Regions from separate parts of the Homo sapiens genome. Here region 2 is linked to region 1. The links are contacts of gene promoters, found by promoter capture Hi-C in human tissues and cell types (Jung and others, 2019). All regions are on one chromosome and are shown on one strand. Each heading gives the region's core, a stretch centred on a gene start or on the middle of the fragment in contact. The rest is flanking DNA. Distances are from core to core; before and after follow the strand shown.

Region 1 (6,852 bases), core at 1,129-3,628:
GAGTTCAAGACCAGCCTGGGGAACATGGCAAAACCCCATCTCTACAAAAACATACAAAAACTAGCCAGGCGTGGTGACGTGCACCTGTAGTCCCAGCTACTGGGGAGGCTGAGGTGGGAGGATAACCTGAGCCGGGGGAGGTTGAGGCTGCAGTGCCATGATCACGCCACTACACTCCAGCCTGGGTGTACACAGAGTAAGACCCTGTCTCAAAAAAAAAAAAAAAAAAAAAAAAAGGTTGAACAAACAAAAAACCAAAATCCAAAGTCAAAAGAAAAATGACAGAAAAATAAATGCAATGTACAAGAGTATATTGTACTACTGTACAATATTCTGTGTTATTGTACTGTTGTACAATACACTTTTTTTCTGAGACAGAGTCTCGCTCTGTCACCCAGGCTGGAGTGCTGTGGCACCGTCTCGGTTCACTGCAACCTCCACCTCCTGGGTTCAAGCAATTCTCCTGCCTCAGCCTCCCGATTATCTGGGATTACAGGCACCCGCTACCACACCCGGTTAATTTTTGTATTTTTTAGTAGAGACGAGGTTTCATCATGTTAGCCAGGCTGGTCTCAAACTCCTGACTTCAGGTGATCTGCCCAACTTGGCCTCCCAAAGTGCTGGGATTACAGGGGTGAGCCGCCGCGCCCGACCATACATTGCATTTACGCTCTTGTACAGAGTAGCATACAGCACAGAGAAGAGCTAAATTCCTTACGGTAACAAGCTCTTAGAATCCCTAAGAAAAAGACACACAGCCCAACAGAAAAATAAAAAATGGGCAAAGAACACAGACAGGCAATATTCCAAATGGCCAATAATAAAATGAAAAGATGTTCAACATCACCAGCAGTCAAAGAAATTAGGATTCAAGTGATGAAAAGGGCTGTTTCGCCTATCAGACTGCCAAAGACATAACGCAATGACATATCTCAGGGCTGGCAAGAGGACAGGCAAGCGGGCATGCCCGCTCACCAGTGGGTGGACGGCAGGCTGGCCCCGCATTTCTGGAGGGCATTTTGGCAAAATGCAGCATAGTCTTTGGCCCGCCGGCCTCTTCTAGGGATTTGCCCGCAGGAAATGCTCAGAGCCGCTCTAAGGAGGCATCATGAAAGCTGTTCACCACAGCACTGTTTTAAAAACTGTGAAGCAGCATGCCAAAACCTTAACAGCCCATGTCTCTGGGAAGTCACCTTATTAATTAGATCATCTCCCCAAAGTTTGGTAATGAAAGAGTATTATTTCATGAGAAAAAAAAAATTGCTTTTTGAAAAAATTCACGAAGGCATTAAAACAATTCTTTAATGGGTTTCCTGACCCAAAACTGGCCCTCCAGCTTCCCAGGCTGGCATGACTAGAAGCACCCCTCCAAGGCAAGTCTCTGATTTTGATCCTATCAAATCTCTGACACTTTCTAGACAGGAACCGAACCCACAAATTCATCTCCCAGACACGTGTGGATCAGGGCCCAGGGGGCTTACAGAAGCAGCGCGGTGCCCCTGCGCACCATCTGCCCCTTCCACGAGTGGGCGCTGAGGGAGGATCCAGTCGGGTCTGCCCGTTCCCCGCCGCCCGGGGATGCTGAGCACACCCGGGCCACCGCCAGCCTCGGGCACACACCCTGGACCTTTTATAAAACAAAACTGGGAAGACTTTCAAGGTCACATGGTCAGTGCACAGCAGAAGCAGAAACAGCAGCGGCCTCAAGGTCCGGGGCAGTTCCTAGAAACTGTTCCCTCCCCCGAACCTGGCGGCAGGTGTGCTCGAGGAGCCGCCGCCCCGGGCAGGTCGTGCGTCCACTCCCCGCCGCAAGCTCGGGTGGGGCAGCCGCGGGGACACGCGGGGGCCGCCCCCGACCCCGGCCCAAGGCTGTGGGGCTGGAGGGGCGGGCGGGCCGGTCTCAGCCCGGAGCCCCGCGTGAACTTCGGGGAGGAACTCGGTTGGCGCCGGGGCCCCGCACGCTCCCTTCCCGCGGCTCCGAGCGCTTTCCCACGGCCACGCCCCCCGCGCCCAGAACTTCCCGGCGACCCCGCGCCCCCTGCGCGCCCCCCGGAGGTGGCCGCGGTACGGGAGGCGGGCAGCACGGGGCTCGGCCCGGCCCAAGCGCCTTCGCCCCGCACCCCGCGGAGGGGGCCGCGTCCGAACCGGGCGGGGCGGGGCGGGGGCGTCCCCGGGGCGCGGGCGCGGCGGCAGGTGGGCGCGCTCTCGCGGGCGGGGGTCCGGCCGGGCCGCGCGCCTCCCCCGGAACTCGGCCGTGCCATTCCCATGATGCCCAGCCACGGGCACGGCTTCCGGAGTGCGGCCGCCGCCGCCACCGTCCGGTAGGTCGCGGGGAGGGGGCGGCTTGGGGGGGTCGCCCCGCCCCCCGCCCCGCCCCTCCCCTCCCGCGCTTCCCACGGCGCGGCCCGGGCGCGGGGCGGCGGCAGCGGCGGCGCGCGGGGAGGCGGGGAGGCGGGGGGCCCGGCCGGACGCCCCTGCGCCCCCTCCCCGCGCCCCGGCCGAGGGCGGAGCGCGCTGGCCCTGCAGCCTCCGGCCCGCCCCCGGCCCGCCGCCTCCCCCGGGACGTGGGACGCGGGCGCAGGCGGGGTCCGCGCGGCGGGCGGCGGGGGACGGGCGGAGGTGAGCGGGTGCAGGGCCGGGGCCGGGGGGCTCGGGGGCTGGGAAGCTGGGGGGTCGGGGACAGGAGGGCCAGCCAGGCCGGGGCCGGCGCGCCGTGCAGGCCGCGGCGGGCGGGCGGCGGGGGCTCCCCGAGGCAGGCGGACGGGGATCGGCGCCGGGGCTGCTCCGTTCCCCGGGCGGGGATCCTGTCTCTGGCCTCCGTGCGACTCTCGGCCCGCGCGCCCCGCGCTCCTGGAGCCCCAGGTGAGGCGCAGGTGAGGGCCCGCGGTGGGGAGCTTTGGCCCGGCCCGGGGCGGCCGCTGCCCTCCGAGAATGGCCGCGGCCCGGCCGGCCTGGAGACTGCGGTTCACGCCCTGCGCCAGGCGGAGCTTCCGGGAGGGTGGCCGCTCTCCCGGGCCCCAAGCTCGCTAGTCCTCGGATCCCAGAAACATAACTCCGGGGGTGCAGACCTGCTTGGAGGCCCGGCCTCTTCCCTGGGAGGCGTTCACTCCCGCCGGGCCGAGGACCAGGTCGCCGATCCCAGCGGCTAGGGTGAGCGCGCCCTCGGGGAGGGGAGCTCCCTTGGGGGACCCTGCCCAGCCCGCAGGCCGTGAGTAGCCCAAGCTTGGGAGTCAGGGGAGGTCGGGCCGGGGCAGCCGGGAGGGGCTCACCTTGCCTTCAGTTCCCAAGCACAGGAAATGGCGGTGCAGCTTTGCTGGGGGACGCTTGTAGTGAGGTTGTAAAATTGCAGCTTCTGGAAGGCTGGGAGCTGAATTCTAGCCCACGCCCACTTCTGGGTGGCTGGAGCGGGTCCTCCTGCTGCCCCGCCCGCTCCTGCACCGGGGCTCCTCTCCCTGGCCTGCAGACCCTGGCCTCCCTACCCTGGGGGGAAACCCCACCTGGGAGGTAAGACCGCTGGCTGAGCTGCTTTTCGGCCAACCGAGAAATGTAGAGTATTTGGGGGCGTTTCTCACAGGTGGGCAGACTGTTAGGATGGCGAGGGCCCAGTGTGGGTGCTTTGGTTCTCTCCAGAAGGTTGATGTCTGGACCGAGAAGGTACCCGAGTGTTCTCCACCGCTTCCTAAAATCTGACACCGTGTGGCCTTGGGGTGCAGGTGCTGGGTGTCCCCACAGCCACCCTCAAGACCGTATCCTGAGGCAGCAATTTGACAAAGCCTGCACCTCTGGCTTGGGCCCACACCTATCTCTAAGGACTGATTAGGGGGCTTTTCTTGTTTTTTTTTTTTTTTTTTTTTTAGAGCCAGAGTCTCGCTTTGTCGCCCAGGCTGGAGTGCAATGGCTGATCTCGGCTCACTGTAATCTCCGCCTCCCTGGTTCAAGCGATTCTCGTGCCTCAGCCCCTGGAGTAGCTGGAACTACAGACGTGGGCTCCCACGCCCAGCTAATTTATGTGTTTTTAGTAGAGATGGGGTTTCGCCATGTTGGCCAGGCTGGTCTCGAACTCCTGGCCTCAAGTGATCCACCTGCCTCCACCTCCCAGAGTGCTGGGATTACAGGTGTGAGCCACTATCCCCGACCCAGGGGGCTTTTCAAGAATGATTCATCTCGCATAATGTTTTAAAGCCACAAGCTGTCCTGGGGAGACGACCCCCCTCGATTTTTTTTTTTCTTTCTGAGATGGAGTCTCGTTCTGTCTCCTAGGCTGGAGTGCAGTGGCGCGATCTCGGCTCACTGCAACCTCTGCCTCCTGGGTTCAAGCAATTCTCCTGTCTCAGCCTCCCCAGTAGCTGGGATTACGGGCACACGCCACCACGCCCAGCTAATTTTTGTATTTTTAGCAGAGGAGGGGTTTCACCATATTGGCCAGGCTGGTCTCAAACTCCTGACCTCAGGTGATCCACCTGCCTCAGCCTCCCAAAGTGCTGGGATTACAGGCGTCAGCCACTGCACCTGGCCAGATTTTTTAATACCATTCTTGAACTAGGTGATTTGACAACTTAGAAAACTGTTCACTGGGTGTCCAGGCCTTCTCTGCAACCAGTCAGAAGCTGTAAATGTGGCTAGTGGAGAACAGACTATTTCCCCAGGAAAACTCCCCTCCCCGACCTTGTCATCTAGTGTAAAGACACTGACTTGGGCCGGTTTTCTTAAGGTAGTATTTAAGGTAGTATTCTTAAGGTAGTATTGCTGTTTAAGGAGTCAATAGTCTTAATTTAGACGCTCCTCAGCCCAAGGCTAATGCAAATGTTTTGTCATTTATGTCATTTTGCAGAGGCAATTTGAATAACACCTACAGTAAGGCAGGCGTGGGTTTGCTAGCCAGTGAAAGAGCTCCTCTCGCATTGTTGGTCCCCCAGTGCTCTGTGTCAGTGGGGAATCTCTCCAGAAGGTGACTTTATGGGGGATGTCATGGGCTGCAGTGGGTGGCCAGAATTTGAGAACTAGCAGATAACGTCACATACGTGCCCCATCCCCATCACTTCAGCCAGCATCAGATCTGCTGTCCAGGATAGCTATACATTACTTGTGGTTAAATGTATTTGTCTTAATACATTAAGTTAAATATATTTGTACTTGTGGTTAAATGTCTTAGAGTAAGTTCCTTCAAAAGTTAATTTTGAGCCCTTAAGTTAATGATATTTCTTTCCAAAAAAAAAAAATTTATCAACTGTAGCTTCAGCCTGTAATTAGATGCCTCTGATTCTCTTTGATTCTGGTAGTCAAAAGTCTATTGAAAAAGCAGAGAGAGAATGCCTCGGTGTGTAAGTGGAGTGATGAGGACCTGATCTCTGGGCCGTGTGGGAACACTGGCTGCCATTTCATCACAGTCAACCTGGACTCACAGAATTTCAAGTAATTTCAAGTAATTCTTGTATTTTAGTTTCCCTTGTAGGGCACAAATTGGTGCTAGCAAATGACTTACTTCTGAATCTGTCTCACCCCCTGGTTAATTGCTGGTTACCCCTTTTGGGCTCACCTGTGTGTAGGTGGCCAGGCTCACCTTTTGTTTCTTTTTCTTTCTTTCTTTTTTTTTTTTTTTTTTTTGAGATGGAGTCTCATTCTGTCGCCCAGACTGGAGTGCAGTGGCATGATCTCAGCTCACTGCAAACTCTACCTCCTGGGTTCGAGCAATTCTCCTGCCTCAGCCTCCCAAGTAGCTGGGATTACAGGCATGCGCCACCATGCCCGGCTAATTTTTGTGTTTTTTTAGTAGAGATGGAGTTTCACTATATTGGTCAGGCTGATCTTGAGCTCCTGACCTCAGGTGATCCACCCGCCTCGGCCTTCCAAAGTGCTGGATTACAGGCGTGAGCCACCACACCTGGCCACAGCCTCACGTTTTTGTGAAAAGATGGTGGCATGTAAATACCCAATTATGTGCTTGTCAGGAAGGAAGCGCCTGGTTAACCGGAGAAAGCTCCTGGTAAAGAAGAATCCATAACAGAGGCAAAACATACTGGCCAGTTTTCGCCCACTGCTGAGGTCCTGAGGGCAGCCACAGCCTCTGAGCCAAGGGGAGTTCAGTGTCCATAAGCCTTGGAGGCTTGCTTGCACAAGAACCGCTTTGCACTGCAATTTTGGGGTAGGCAGGTGGGTATCAGAGCAATGTGTTAAGAATGAATAGCTGCGCAGTATCCCTGGTATTGTTCTAAGTGACTGCCATCCACCTGAGCTTCCTCCCTGCAGTGGCAATCCCCAGGCCATTCGTGAGCAGGTCTTCAAAGTGTCCCAAGCTCAGCCCAGCACTTGTGCTGAGGCAGCCACCTTTGGTCTGAAATCTGGCAGCGCAGGATGAGAAGGGGGACATCACTGTGTTCAGGGTGACTTCTGTGCTAGTTAGCTAAGAATAACAATGCAGTCCCATGCGACCACCTGGCAAATTTACATTTGACATTTAACATAGAGAGGGTTTAGTAAAAGCAGCCCTTCAAGATGTTTGGGGAAATAATTTCTGAGTGGCTCACATCATACAACTTTCCGTTCCAGGAGCTTGTCGGTTGGGTCAAGAATGAACCTACGCATGACGGCGTGCTGATCCTGGGTTTCTAGTCATCCTTTTTAAGCTGCAAAGAAGCATTTGCAGACGTTGTCTCATGGGTACCGCTTGCCAACTTTGGAGGTAAATAAAACCTCTCCCCTCTTACAGAGAAGGTGGAAGCCCGGAGTGAGAAGGGAAGAGCGGGGAGGTGATGACCGTGCGTGCCCCGGGCGGCACCGTGGAGGGTGGTTGGAAACATTTTCTTACTGAATCTTCCCAGCAGCCCCGGGCTGGAGCAGGTAAATTGTTCCTTT
Region 2 (6,852 bases), core at 1,464-3,963, 470 kb before region 1:
CCTCCATGCTCCTGGTTCCGTAGCAGGGGACTGGGTAGGTCCTGGCTGCACTGAGCTACTTACTGGTAAAGAGGGCAGTGAAGCCTCTCAAGTGAAACCACTCAAGCGAAACCACTCAAGCCTCAGGCTCAGGGCGGTTCTCGAGGGGAGGCCCAAGCCCAGTGGTAGCCCTGGCTTGTTAGAGGTGCAAACCCTTGGCCCCCGACCCATGGAGGCAGAATCTGAGGGTGGGGCTGGCATCTGCTCAGGATCCCCCGGGTGCTTCTGACACTTGCTCCCAGGGATCCCCTGCCTGCCTTGTTTCACACCTTGTTTTGTGCACAAGGGGACTTCATGACGCCATCCCTCCAGCTCTCAAAGGACGGTCCCCAATGCAGCCCTGGAAGGTGGCTCAACAAAAAAGACCCCCATGAGGCCAGGCCTGGAGCTCCAGTGGCCCAGAGCACTGTAGGCTAAACGCAGATGTGACCACTGGAGTGAAAGCTGGAAGAGCAAATCCAGAAAGCCAAGCCTTCCTGTAAGCCTCAACAGCCAACCGGATCGGCTGAAGAGCAATTAGGAACTCAACCGACAGCTCACATCTGAGCCCAATCAGAACAATGCAGCTAAGCAATAGTGGCCCAGTGAGCCCCTCTCCACCTACCCAAAGAGCCCAGAGATCAGGGGGTCCTAGCAGTCCCCAAGACCAAACTGTCTGCACAAGCCACAGATGGATAAGTGGTGCTATTTGCCCCACCCATAACTAGTTGACAAGGTAGGAAGTCAGTTTAGGAGATCTGGTGGTAATGGTGAAGTTTATGCCCTTGGAGCCATGGGGACCTGGGTTCAAATCCTGACCCTGCTGTTCCTAGCTCTGTGAACTTGAGAAAGACAGTAGCCTCCGTTTCTTTGTCTGAAATGGGAATCTGGGGATGAGGGGAAGGCAATGCCCCTCCACCCATGCACATCATCAGGACCATTTGAGATAGGAAACAATACCTATCTCATCTGATCCTTGTCAGTAATTAAATAGTGCATGTGAAACGTTTGGTGACAGCTCTGTCATGGCTTGCCAAGCATCTTGGATTTTGAGTCAATGATCTCACTTCTTCCACCCAAGGAAGGTTCAGGACACTTTCCACCCAAGCCTCCACCAGAACCTAAGCTTCATCTGCATCTCAAAATCAGCACTGGCCAGCAATGGGCTTCTGACTCATTGGAGTAAATGGTCTACCTGTCAGTAAATTAAGTTTCAGATTCAAAGATAATCTAAGAATCAGAATTTCATGCTGCTAGAGCAATGCCCTTTGACTCCCAGACCCAAAGGCTGACAGCTGAGTAGGAACCCAGCTCCTGAAGCGGTGGGAGGGCCAGAGGGTCTGGGGAGCGGGGAGCAGAGAGATAGGAGAGGCACACAGAGAGAGGTGGGCTGGGAGCAGCCGGAGGGCCCAGGCCCATGCAGGGCATCTCCAGTAGCCTTGCTCTTCTCAGATCCTGTGTGTGGGGCCCAGGGAGGGGACTGGTGTCTGCAAAGTCCCTGTAGACCTGTCACCAGCATCTCCTATCGTCAGCATCTTGTATGACCAGGTACGTTGGTCACAACCAGAAAAGCAACATTGCTGCAATGCTATCATTAATTAAACTTCAGACCTGATTTGAATTTCACTAATCTTTCTTCTGAGGTCCCTTTTCTGTCCAGGACACCACAGGACATTGTGTCGTCTCGGTTTCCTCCTGGCTGTGGTGGTTTCTCAGCCTTTCCCCATCTGTGATGACCTTGACAGTTTTGAGGGATGCTGTTTAGGTGTTTTTTTTATTTATTTATTTATTTTTTTTTTTTGACACAGAGTCTTACTCTGTTGCCCAGGCTGGAGTGCAGTGGTGCAATCTCTGCTCACTACAACCTCCACCTCCTGGGTTCAAGCGATTCTCCTGCCTCAGCCTCCCGAGTAGCTGGGATTATAAGCACCTGCCACCATGCCCGGCTAATTTTGTATTTTTAGTAGAGACAGGGTGGGTTTTACCATATTGGGCAGGCTAGTCTCAGACTCCTGACCTCAGGTCACCTGCCCCTTGGTGGGGCTCTGTCTGCTGTGTTTCTCACAGGTAGACTGGGTGATGGGTTTGGGAGGAGGAGCAGGAAGGCAATGCCCCTCCACCCACGCACATCAGCAGGATCATGTGCCGTCCACTTGACTCTCACTGCTGACACTGGCCTTGGTCACTGGCAGAGGATGTGCACGTCACGTGTCTCCACCATGGAGTTACTTATCTTTTTCCAAAAGGGAATGTTAGTGTTTCCTATGGACTCGGACTCAATGGGGAAGGAGCCTGTCACTGGGCCCAGAGATGTCACTGAGACGTGCTGTTTGCCTGTTCTTACCTGTTCAGGAGGGTGCTGGTATCTGCAGAGGCCACCACCCCAGAGGCTCCTAGGAAGCTCCTCCAACCCCTGCCCTATCTCCGTCTCCTCTCTGTGGGACACAGACTCTCCCCAGGCCTGAGAGGAAGGGGCAGCAGAACTGGCCATCTGCCCTGGGGTCCTCAGCCTCCCTCTCGTGAGGCCTCAGCCAGGGGCCCAGCCTCACAGGTGGACTCCGTGCAGGGGCCATTTGTCAGAGACGAGGGGAGAGAAATGGAGCTGAAACCAGTCGGCAGGAAGCCAAGGGAGGCAGGTCTGTGGCTTCGCTGCCCTTTTCAAATATTTATTTCTCAGCCCTGCCATTCTTCACTTTCAAGGGGCCTATATCTTAAAAATGGGTGCTTGATTTAGTGCTAATGAGGGCAACTGTCTAAACCACCACGAGCCCTGATTTTAATTAAAATGACAAAGACGGGTGGGCCAGGAGCTGAATGTCCTGTTTCCCTCTGGCCCTTAGAGAGAAAGGAACAGGACATCTGGATTTAGGAATCCAGTCCTCACCGGGGGCCCAAAGTCAGACTTCCTCTTGGGGAGCAGGGGACGTCCCCACTTCTTTCCCTCCAGGAGCCCTGAGGCCAGGCTGTGAGGGACCCCGCACCATGCTCCTGGCCCCTTTCCCGCCTCCCCCGCTCTGTCTCCCTCCTTCCCTTCCCCTTTCTGGGCCTGGGTGGATCTTTTCCAGAATCCTCTTCCTTCTCCAAAATGATGGCGGTCCCCGGAGAAAAGCCCCAGTGCCACTTTGGGGTTTGGTTCATGTTATGGGCTGGGTGTCTGTGTTCCCCCAAATTTGTATGTTGAAGTCCTAGGCCCCCAGGACCTCACAATGTGAGAGTATCAGAGATAGCGTCTTTTCAGAGGTCACTAAGGTAAAATGAGGTCTTCAGGATGAGCTCTAATCCATTGTGACTGGTGTCCTTAAAAGAAGAGGAGATTAGGACACAGAAGCCCACAGAGGGATGACCACATGAGGACGCAGGGAGAAGACGCCATCTGCAAGCCCAGGAGAAAGGCCTCAGGAGGAACCAGCCCTGCCTCCACCTGCACCTCAAACTTCCAGCCTCTGGGACTGTGAGGAAATCAATCGAGTGTGTGGTTAAAGCTGCACAGCCCTTGGATTTCATTCCGGCGCCCGAGCTGCGTCACAGGGGTCCGGAGAGTGTGGTTAAAGCTGCACAGCCCGTGGGATTTCATTCCGGCGCCCGAGCTGCGTCACAGGGGTCTGGAGAGTGTGGTTAAAGCTGCACAGCCCGTGGGATTTCATTCCGGCACCCGAGCTGAGTCACAGGGGTCCCGAGTCTGCACTGTTCATGCCTGATCATGTTCTACATCCTCCAGCCTGGACGTGTAGACCCTTGGTCTGCCTTTACCAAGGATCCTATTAAGCCAGCTCAGCACGAATCCCCTGCTCTTGCTGTCTACGGGAGCTCCTCTTAATCATTTTCCACCCACCGTCCCTCACTCTGCTTACCTGCTGAACATCCCCAGCTGTCTGTCTATTCAGAATTGAGCTCAGTTCCACACTAAAATCTTTTCCTCCTACTGCGGGAGCTCAAATAAAATCAGCCTGAAACACAGTGAACAGCAGAGCTAAGGGTGGCCCCTGTTGAAGGGCTGGGGCGCTGCCTCTGGGGGCATCTTCATTAGACCCCCGGGAAGCAGGTATCTTCTACTTTTACAGAGTAACACGAGATTTCTGTTTTCCACTCACCTTCCTGAGAAGTGTTGTGTGTGTGAAGGCCCAAGGTGGCCTTATTCCTCTCTTCTTGGTAAGGTTTTATTGAAGTCCACTGGGGAATTTGGGGCAGCAGGACTCAGGCGGGGGTCTCATCCCAGAGCCGAGGAAGACAGACACAGTGGTCACAGGAAAGTGCACATGGTTGCAAGCAAGCAACAGGAGCAACGCTCACCTTTCCTGGCATCTGCTTCTTTCTGAGGAGGCGCCAGTCCCAAGGGAGAAGCCCACTGGTGCACGGCGTAGGTTGTCCTCCCGAGCCTGTCGCAGGACACATGCGTGGGCTGGACCAGGCATTGCCAGATAAAAATGCAGGACACCCTGTTGAACGTGCATTTCAGCCGCTGACCCAGCAGTTCCACTCCTGCATCCACACCCAAGAGAAACAAAGGCAGAGGCCTCACAAAAACGCGCACTTGGAGATTCACAGCAGCTCCATTCGTAAGAGCCCAAAGGCAGGAACAGCCAGAGGCCCGCTGTCAGTTACAAAATGTGCACCAGACGCTTGTTAAAAACAGCAAGACAGATTTTATTCCAGCTACCCCAATAGGAGGAAAGGGCTTTAGTGTGGAACTGAGCTCAACTCTGAGTAGACAGAGGCAGCTGGGGATGTTCAGCAGGTCAGCAGAGTGAGGGGCAGTGGGTGGAAACTGATGAAGAGGAGCTCCCTTAGACGGCGAGGGCAGGGGATTCGTGCTGAGGGGGCCTAACAGAATCCTTGCTAAAGGCAGACCAAGGGTCCAGATGTCCAGGCTGGAGGATGTAGAACATGTCAGGCATGAAGAGTGCAGGATTCTCAGCAAATAGGTTTAGCATGACTTTTGCTAAAGCTGGGAATGGCAGGTGAAGGGTGGGGTGGCAGACCGACGTCAGAGGACCCTGATAGGGAGGAAGTCTTTGTCACCATACTCTGATGAGTGGATGACAAAAATACTGTCTAACACAATGGAACGCTGCTCAGCCATAGGAAGGAACGGAGTTCTGACGCTTGGTGCAACACGGGTGGACCTGGAACGCGTGGTGGGTGCAAGAAGCCAGTCACAAAGACCCCATTTTATGGGATTCCATTCGAGTGAAATGTCCGGATGTGGAAACCCACAGGGACGTGCAGCCAGGCAGGGGTCGCTTAGGGCTGAGCGGAGCGGGGATGGGCAGTGACAGGCGACAGGGGTGGGGCTTCTTTTTGAGGGAATGAAAATGTTCTCAAATTGCCTGTAGTGATGGCTGCACTTATCCATAAATATGCTACAAAACCATTGAACTGTGCACTCTAATGGGTAATTGTACAGTATGTGAATATATCTCAATAGAGCTGTTTATAAAAAGGTTAGCTGGGGAGACACCCACACCACACATTCACCCACATGCCAGGGCATGCAGTGACAGCTGCTTCCTCTTCTTGGCGTCATCATCCTCCTGAAAATAAGACTTGAATTCCAGATAAATGAAAATTTTGTTATTTACTATAAACATGTCCCGTAAAATACTTGGGACATGCTAATTAGCCACAGAGGGAGACCCTTCTACTCCCTAGGCATCAGAAACTGGCCCCTCTTCCCACAGGCAATAAAAACAACAACGTATCAATAACAACTCATAACAGCCTGAAACACAGTGAATAGCAGAGCTAAGGGTGGCCGCTATTGAAGAGCTGGGGCACTGCCTCTCGTGGCATCTTCATTAGACTCCTGTGAAACAGGTGTCGTCTTCTTTTATAGAGTAGGTAGAGTAGGAAGAGGGAGCTTAGAGAGGTTGCACTTTGCCAGCATGTACGCACTCTTAAGCGATGGGCTGAGATTAAACAGGCTCATTAGAGCCTCTCACACAATTAGGAAAACGGGCTCACACCCAGCTGGGGGCCCAGATTGTGCAGGGACAGGGTAGAGGCCACGGGCTGCAGGCCCACAAGTCTACTGTGCACCTGCTCGTGGATGGAGCCCAAGCGTGGACAGCTCGGATCTCCTCCTCATGGACCTCACAGAGCAGGAGGTGCCAGGACAGGAGCCGAGATGCTGAGCTTGCCCACAGGTCCCTGTGAGGACGCAGCTACCCACCCAGCAGTCCCTGAGTCCCTTCTCAGCCTTCCCAGACCAGAGTTGAATTCCCAAACCTGGAAAGTGTGGTAGAGCTCCAGGGGAACCGGTCAGGCTGATAACTGCAAAGTCCTCAAATCGCAATGACTCTTAGGAGCCTGCGGCTAATTTGCAGGCAGCTCCAAGGTGGCTTCTGGGAGGGGCAGGTCTGGGCCTGCCAGGAGCTGCCTGCGTGGGTCTGGGGTCCAGAGGACAAAGCCCCTGGTTGGGCTTTGAGGCTCTGCAGCACTAAATGCCCCCATTGTTTTTTGCTGTTGTTGTTGTTGAGACGGAGTCTCCCTCTGTCACCCAGGCTAGAGTGCAGTGGCACAATCTTGGCTCACTGCAACCTCTGCCACCCATGCTCAAGTGATTCTCTTGCCTTAGCCTCTCTAGTAACTGGGATTACAGGCACATGCCACCACCCCCGACTAATTTTTTGTATTTTTAGTAGAGACGGGGTTTCACCATCTTGGCCAGGCTGGTCTTGAACTCGTGACCTCATGATCCACCCGCCTCAGCCTCCCAAAGTGCTGGGATTAAAGGAGGCAAGCAGCTTTTCTTCAGGAAGTACTGCCAGACCTCCATGAAGGGAAAGGAAAATGAAGACATAAGTGATTTTCTGAAAAGCATCTATTAGAGAGAGG

What was found. Contacts are between HindIII fragments. The study calls those that stand out against the background at their distance.
Region 2: a contact is called between a fragment that was not itself captured here and the fragment with the promoter of PPP1R26 in region 1, in 1 of the 25 tissues and cell types used here (pancreas).

Annotation. Positions count from the first base shown.
Region 1 is chr9:135,477,404-135,484,255 of GRCh38, forward strand. PPP1R26 (protein phosphatase 1 regulatory subunit 26) reads left to right here and starts at 2,379. Exons shown (of 4, transcript NM_014811.5): 1 at 2,379-2,619; 2 at 5,280-5,412; 3 at 6,547-6,679. RefSeq lists silencers at 2,901-2,960, 2,971-3,020. The HindIII fragment of the contact is 17,940 bases long and covers 1-6,852 here.
Region 2 is chr9:135,010,945-135,017,796 of GRCh38, forward strand. No RefSeq gene overlaps it. Among named protein-coding and RNA genes, the nearest start is that of OLFM1, 73 kb to the right of the region's middle. The HindIII fragment of the contact is 6,445 bases long and covers 1-5,936 here.